Linked DNA regions of Homo sapiens: region 2 is linked to region 1. The links are contacts of gene promoters, found by promoter capture Hi-C in blood cells and fetal thymus (Javierre and others, 2016). All regions are on one chromosome and are shown on one strand. Each heading gives the region's core, a stretch centred on a gene start or on the middle of the fragment in contact. The rest is flanking DNA. Distances are from core to core; before and after follow the strand shown. Region 1 holds the start of RNF26 (ring finger protein 26). Region 2 holds the start of NLRX1 (NLR family member X1).

Region 1 (2,700 bases), core at 146-2,645:
GTGGGCACATTCTCCAAGATTTGACACTGGCGGGAGGATGCGAGTAGGAAAATAAAAACATCAGCAACACATCACAACACAACAAACCATAACCTGGCCAGGGCCTGAGAGCAGGGAGAGAGAAAGGGTAGGAAGAAGCCAGAGGAGTTTCAGCGACTGCAGTCCTTCCTCTGCACTATAGCGTACCCCTACCACGATCCCAAGGCCTCAGTAAAGGTTTGCTGCACACCTCAGCTTCTTATCAGTGATGCTTTGGAGAATGAAGGACTCTGAGGCAGTGTTCAGGGCAGACTGAAGGAGGACGGACACTTTCAGGAGCCCAGGAGTGGAGATGGAGAATTCAACTCAAGTAGGAAATTCAGCAAAGGTGACCAGGGGAAAGATAAGTCCACTAGGAGTCTGCTAAGCATCCTTGGAGTTAGTAGAAAACGCCAGGATTCCCAATATATTTGGGATGGGGTTTCAAATATATTTTGACTATTGTTTGAGTATTAAAGAAAAGGGCAGGGCCGGGCTTGGTGGCTCACGCCTGTAATCTCAGCACTTTGGGAGGCCGAGGCGGGTGGATCACGAGGTTCAGGAGTTCGAGGCCAGCCTGGCCAACATGGTGAAACCTCGTCTCTACTAAAAATACAAAAATTAGCCGGGTGAGGTGGTGGGCACCTGTACTACCCGGGAGGCTGAGGCAGGAGAATCGCTTGAACCCGGGAGGCAGAGGTTGCAGTGAGCCGAGATCGCGCCACTGCACTCTAGGGTAGGAAGGCCCAGGGTAGGAAGCTGAGCGGTTTCTAAATCTGTAGCCCCTTTTTCTCAATGACAATGAAGTAATCTTCCGAGATGTTGAAAAACCTGGTGAGGAAAGTTTGGAATAGCAGTTTGGGAATCCCCTGTAATAATCTGCTTTCCCTTGTGAACAGCAGGCACTGTCTTAAAATTTTTTTGTATCCTCAATGCACTGTAGGAGTTCAATAAATGATAGAATAGATGAATAAATAGAAGAGAATGAGGAGACGGATCTGGGCAGGCTGCGAAGGCGGTGCTATTCCAAAGCCCAGCCCAGAGGCAGTGACCTCCGACCCAAGCCAAAAAAAAAACCTCGCGTTCAGAGGCCGGGAGAAAGAACAGCTCCCAAATTGAGGGGAGTCCAAGACCCTGCTCTTTTAGAGGGTGGGGCTAGGAGAGCGTATTTCGACGCTGCCCGCCAACGAACCAATCCCCGCCTAAAGGGGGAGGGGATTTAATCTGTCGCCTCTCCTTCCCTTTGGAAAGTAAATACGTTCGGGCGCCATTCAAACGGACCAATGAGTGATCGACGTTTTTGTGGTTGGCCTTCACCGATTGGCTGGAGTTTGTCGTCCCTCCCTCCTCGTCACGCCTCTGGCTCCACCCCTTTGCACACAAGATGGCGGCGCCCAGCGGAGTAGGGGCTGCGCTTGGGGTTTGCTGAAGCTGGCTGCCTCTCCCACTCCCCTTTTGGGTGCAAAGCGCCGCTAGCGGGAAGACGGGGGCCGGGCGGGGACAGGGGCACCTGCGTAGCTGGACTGAGAGCCTGCGCCCAGCTTACATCGACCCCACCCGGCCCCGGCCCGACCCGACGCGACCCGATCCGATCCGATCCCATTCCATCCGTTCCTCGTCTCCTCCCGGTCTGACCCGTTGCCCGGCCGTGGTTCGCCACACCAGGCATCCAAAGCTGAGGTCGCTCCTACGGCCTGGGCTCGCCTTCGCTTTAGAGATGTTTGGCCTCTTCCCTCCCAAACAGCCCATCTTCAAAACCTGGACTCTTGGACTGGCACCTGGCCACCTTTCCCTCTACCAAGACTCCACTTCCGTCTTACCCACTTCTTCCTCAGATTCTTGGTACCCCCTGGGTTGGAGACTGCTCATTTTCCTTCCAAATTAATCCCAGACCCCCTAAAATATTGACAACCTTGACAACCCCCCAACCGAGGAGCCAGACTTTGTTTTGGACTAACTTCCATAGCCCTATCATGGAGGCAGTGTACCTGGTAGTGAATGGGTTGGGCCTGGTGCTGGACGTGCTGACCTTGGTGTTGGACCTCAACTTCCTGCTGGTGTCCTCCCTCCTGGCTTCCCTGGCCTGGCTCCTGGCCTTCGTCTACAACCTGCCGCACACGGTACTGACTAGTCTTCTGCACTTGGGCCGCGGAGTCTTGCTTTCATTGCTGGCCTTGATCGAAGCCGTGGTCCGGTTCACATGTGGGGGCTTGCAGGCCTTGTGTACTCTGCTGTATAGCTGCTGCTCTGGCCTAGAGAGCCTAAAGCTCCTGGGGCACCTGGCCTCTCATGGGGCACTGCGGAGCAGGGAGATACTGCACCGGGGCGTCCTCAATGTGGTCTCCAGTGGCCATGCTTTGCTGCGCCAGGCCTGTGACATCTGTGCCATTGCCATGAGCCTGGTGGCTTATGTGATCAACAGCCTGGTCAACATCTGCCTCATCGGCACTCAGAACCTCTTTTCCCTGGTGCTGGCCCTGTGGGATGCAGTGACCGGGCCTCTGTGGAGGATGACGGACGTAGTGGCTGCCTTCCTAGCCCACATTTCCAGCAGTGCTGTGGCCATGGCCATCCTCCTTTGGACACCCTGCCAACTAGCCCTGGAGCTGCTGGCCTCAGCTGCCCGCCTCCTGGCCAGCTTTGTGCTTGTCAATCTCACTGGCTTGGTGTTGCTAGCTTGTG
Region 2 (2,700 bases), core at 138-2,637, 170 kb before region 1:
CAGCCCGGCTAATTTTTGTATTTTTAGTAGAGATGAGGTTTCACCACGTTGCCTAGGTTGGTCGTGAACTTCTGAGCTCAGGCAATCCGCCTGCCTTGGCCTCCCAAAGTGCTAGGATTACAGGCATGAGCCACCATGCCTGGCCAATTTTTGTTATTTTTAGTAGAGACGGGGGTTTCACCATGTTGGCCATGGTGACGAGTTTGAGCTGGTCCCAAACTCCTGGCCTCAGGAGATCTGCCCTCACCCCCAGCCTTCCAAAGTGCTGAGATTACAGGTGTGAGCCACCGCGGCTGGTCCTCTGATTTATTTTTTCAGATCCAGTACAAATGTTACCTCCTCTGCACTCCCTTTTCCAGACTCTCCTAATGCCTTGCCTCTGCCACTGAAGTACATCATTTGTTTGTCTGTTTTTTATATTTTTATTTTCTATTTTCATTTTAAATAGAGACAGGGTCTCACTATGTCACCCAGGCTGGTCTCAAACTCCTGGTCTCAAGTGATCCTCCTGCCTCGGCCTTGAAGTACATCATTTGTAAATGTGGTAGTTGATTCCATTAAAGTGAGGTGCCTGCCTTGCTGTGGTTGGCAGCCCAGGGCCTAGTGCTGGACCTGGCTTGTGGGGGTGAGGTGCTCAGTGCTACCCAATACCACAGTACAACGAATGAACAAATGTCTAAATGAAACATCCACATTGTTTTCAGTAAGTCCTCTTCCCAGCCCTGCCCTGGAGAGCCTCTCTGTGGGTGCCCTAGTGCACAGCTCTGTTGTGTGAACATCGTACACTCATGCTTGCATACGAAGGCGTGCCCTGGCTGTGGGTGGTGGGTGGCTCCTCCTTCTGGGCTACGTGAGCCCAGGGTGTGGAAGTGTGTGGAAGTGTAGGGATAAGGGTGGGGGCTTTGGGAACTGGGAAGCCCCAGGGCTAGGCCATGAATGGGTGTCAGACCCGAAGAGCAGGTTGGGGTGCAAGTTGTCCTTCAGCCCCCATTCTTCCTTCTTTCTTAACCAAGGTTACCAGCAGCCACACACATAGGTCTGGGCTCTGAAGAGGACCGGATACATAAGGCAGAACCCAAGGAAGCCTTAGGCTCAGGTCTCTGCCTGAAGGTAGGCTGGGGAGGCGGAGAGGGACAGAGGGAAGAATCCCCTGGACACCGCGCCTCAGGGAGGCCCAGGGGTAAGGTAGGAAGACTCAGGCCCGGGATGTTGTTCTGGCTCATCCACTTCCTAACTGAATCAACCTGCACAAGTCATTTCACCCTTCTGAGCATCAGTTTCTTCATCTGTAAAATGGGCCTAACAAGCAGCCCAGCCTGGGAGGTGGTTAGTGAGGTCACTGGGTGTCACTGGCGCTTGGGAACCTGCAGAGGGCAGTACTAGCGGCAGTGCCCGCGGGGATGGAGGCAGGGAGGGGGGACGATGGCGGGACGGGTGGCGCCGGGGTTCCAGCCCTGCGCCTGCTCCGGAGCACCGGGCCCCTCTCGCTGACCCCCTCGTCCCAGGACCCCGCAGGCCCGAGTGCCTGGGCTCGTCCTCTTTCGCGCCCGCTGCCAGGTGCCAGGGCCGCGCAGGCGGGCGGAGGTGGGCAGGAAGCGCCACGCCGAGGAGCCGGGGACTCTGGGAGCTAGCGGGAGACGCCGGCGTCCGCCCAGCCGACCCCTCTGGGCCGCGGCCGACGGCTCCCGGAACTGGGCAGCCGCGGGTAAAGGCCTAGCGGGCTTGATAACCCCTGCGCCCTGGCTGGGAGGCCGCGCTGAGCGGGGGGCAGGGCGGGCCGGGGGAGGAGGCTGTGCAAGGGCCGCGGGGAGATCCCGGCCGAGAACGAGAGGGACGGAGCTGGGCGCTGAATGGCGGGCGTTCTGGCAAGTCTCCCCCTGCGTTCCCGAGGCCACCCGAAAGTAGGAGAGCTGTTTGGGACCCAGTTTGGTGGAGGAGCTCTGGACCTGTAGGAACACCGCCCCTGTACGTTTCCTGCAGTGCCCCCTCCTTTTCTCATTGCCCTGGAGACCTGGGTGATCACCGGAGAACTGCCCTCGGCCCCGCAAGTCCCGTCTTGACTCAGTGGCCCTAGATCCGAGGTTAAACCGGAACCTAGGCTTTCTCAGGCTTCTGGAGCCCTCTCTTAACCCTTCCGCAGCCCCTGGGACGGGCCAGCACCCAGCCAGCTCCTCCGCTGGTTGGCCCTGCTAAGGCAGGTGGCCCAATGCAGCCAGTTCTCCTTAAGCGTACCCTGCCCAAGAAGCCCCGATCTCAGTGGAGGAGACCAGGTGCCAAATAGGGGCACATTCCATTTAAGTGAGTTCAGAGGCCTCAGAAAAGACTTCCCAGGGACGGAGACTTTTGAGCAGGATCTTAAAAGATTGGTTGGGGCCCGAGTGGTGGCTCGCGCCTGCAGTCCCCGCACTTTGGGAGGGCAAGGCGGGCGGATCACTTGAGCCCAGGAGTTCGAGACCACCCTGGGCAACAATGGTGAAAACCCCGTCTCTACAAAAACCAAAGCCAAAAATTAGCCAGGTGTGGTGGCACACCACTTTAGTCCTAGCTACTCAGGAGGCTGAAGCAGGAGGATGGCTTGAGCCCAGGAGGTAGAGGTTGCTGTGAGCTGAGATCGTACTACTGCACTCCAGCCTGGGCAACAGAGCGAGAGACCCTGTCTCAGGAAAAAAAAAAAAAAAAAAAAAAAAAAAAAAAAAATTG

What was found. The method cuts DNA at HindIII sites, captures the fragments that hold promoters and counts their contacts. A CHiCAGO score of 5 or more calls a contact.
Region 2: the fragment with the promoter of NLRX1 here is called in contact with the fragment with the promoter of RNF26 in region 1 in 8 of 17 cell types (naive CD4 T cells, fetal thymus, non-activated CD4 T cells and 5 more); the score reaches 9.0 in naive CD4 T cells.

Annotation. Positions count from the first base shown.
Region 1 is chr11:119,333,132-119,335,831 of GRCh38, forward strand. It overlaps RNF26 (ring finger protein 26), which reads left to right and starts at 1,396. Exons shown (of 1, transcript NM_032015.5): 1 at 1,396-2,700. The coding sequence starts at 1,992. RefSeq lists an enhancer at 1,038-1,929. The HindIII fragment of the contact is 9,565 bases long and covers 1-2,700 here.
Region 2 is chr11:119,167,338-119,170,037 of GRCh38, forward strand. It overlaps NLRX1 (NLR family member X1), which reads left to right and starts at 1,388. Exons shown (of 10, transcript NM_001282144.2): 1 at 1,388-1,965. RefSeq lists a silencer at 1,297-1,906 and enhancers at 1,478-2,183, 2,184-2,700. The HindIII fragment of the contact is 14,996 bases long and covers 1-2,700 here.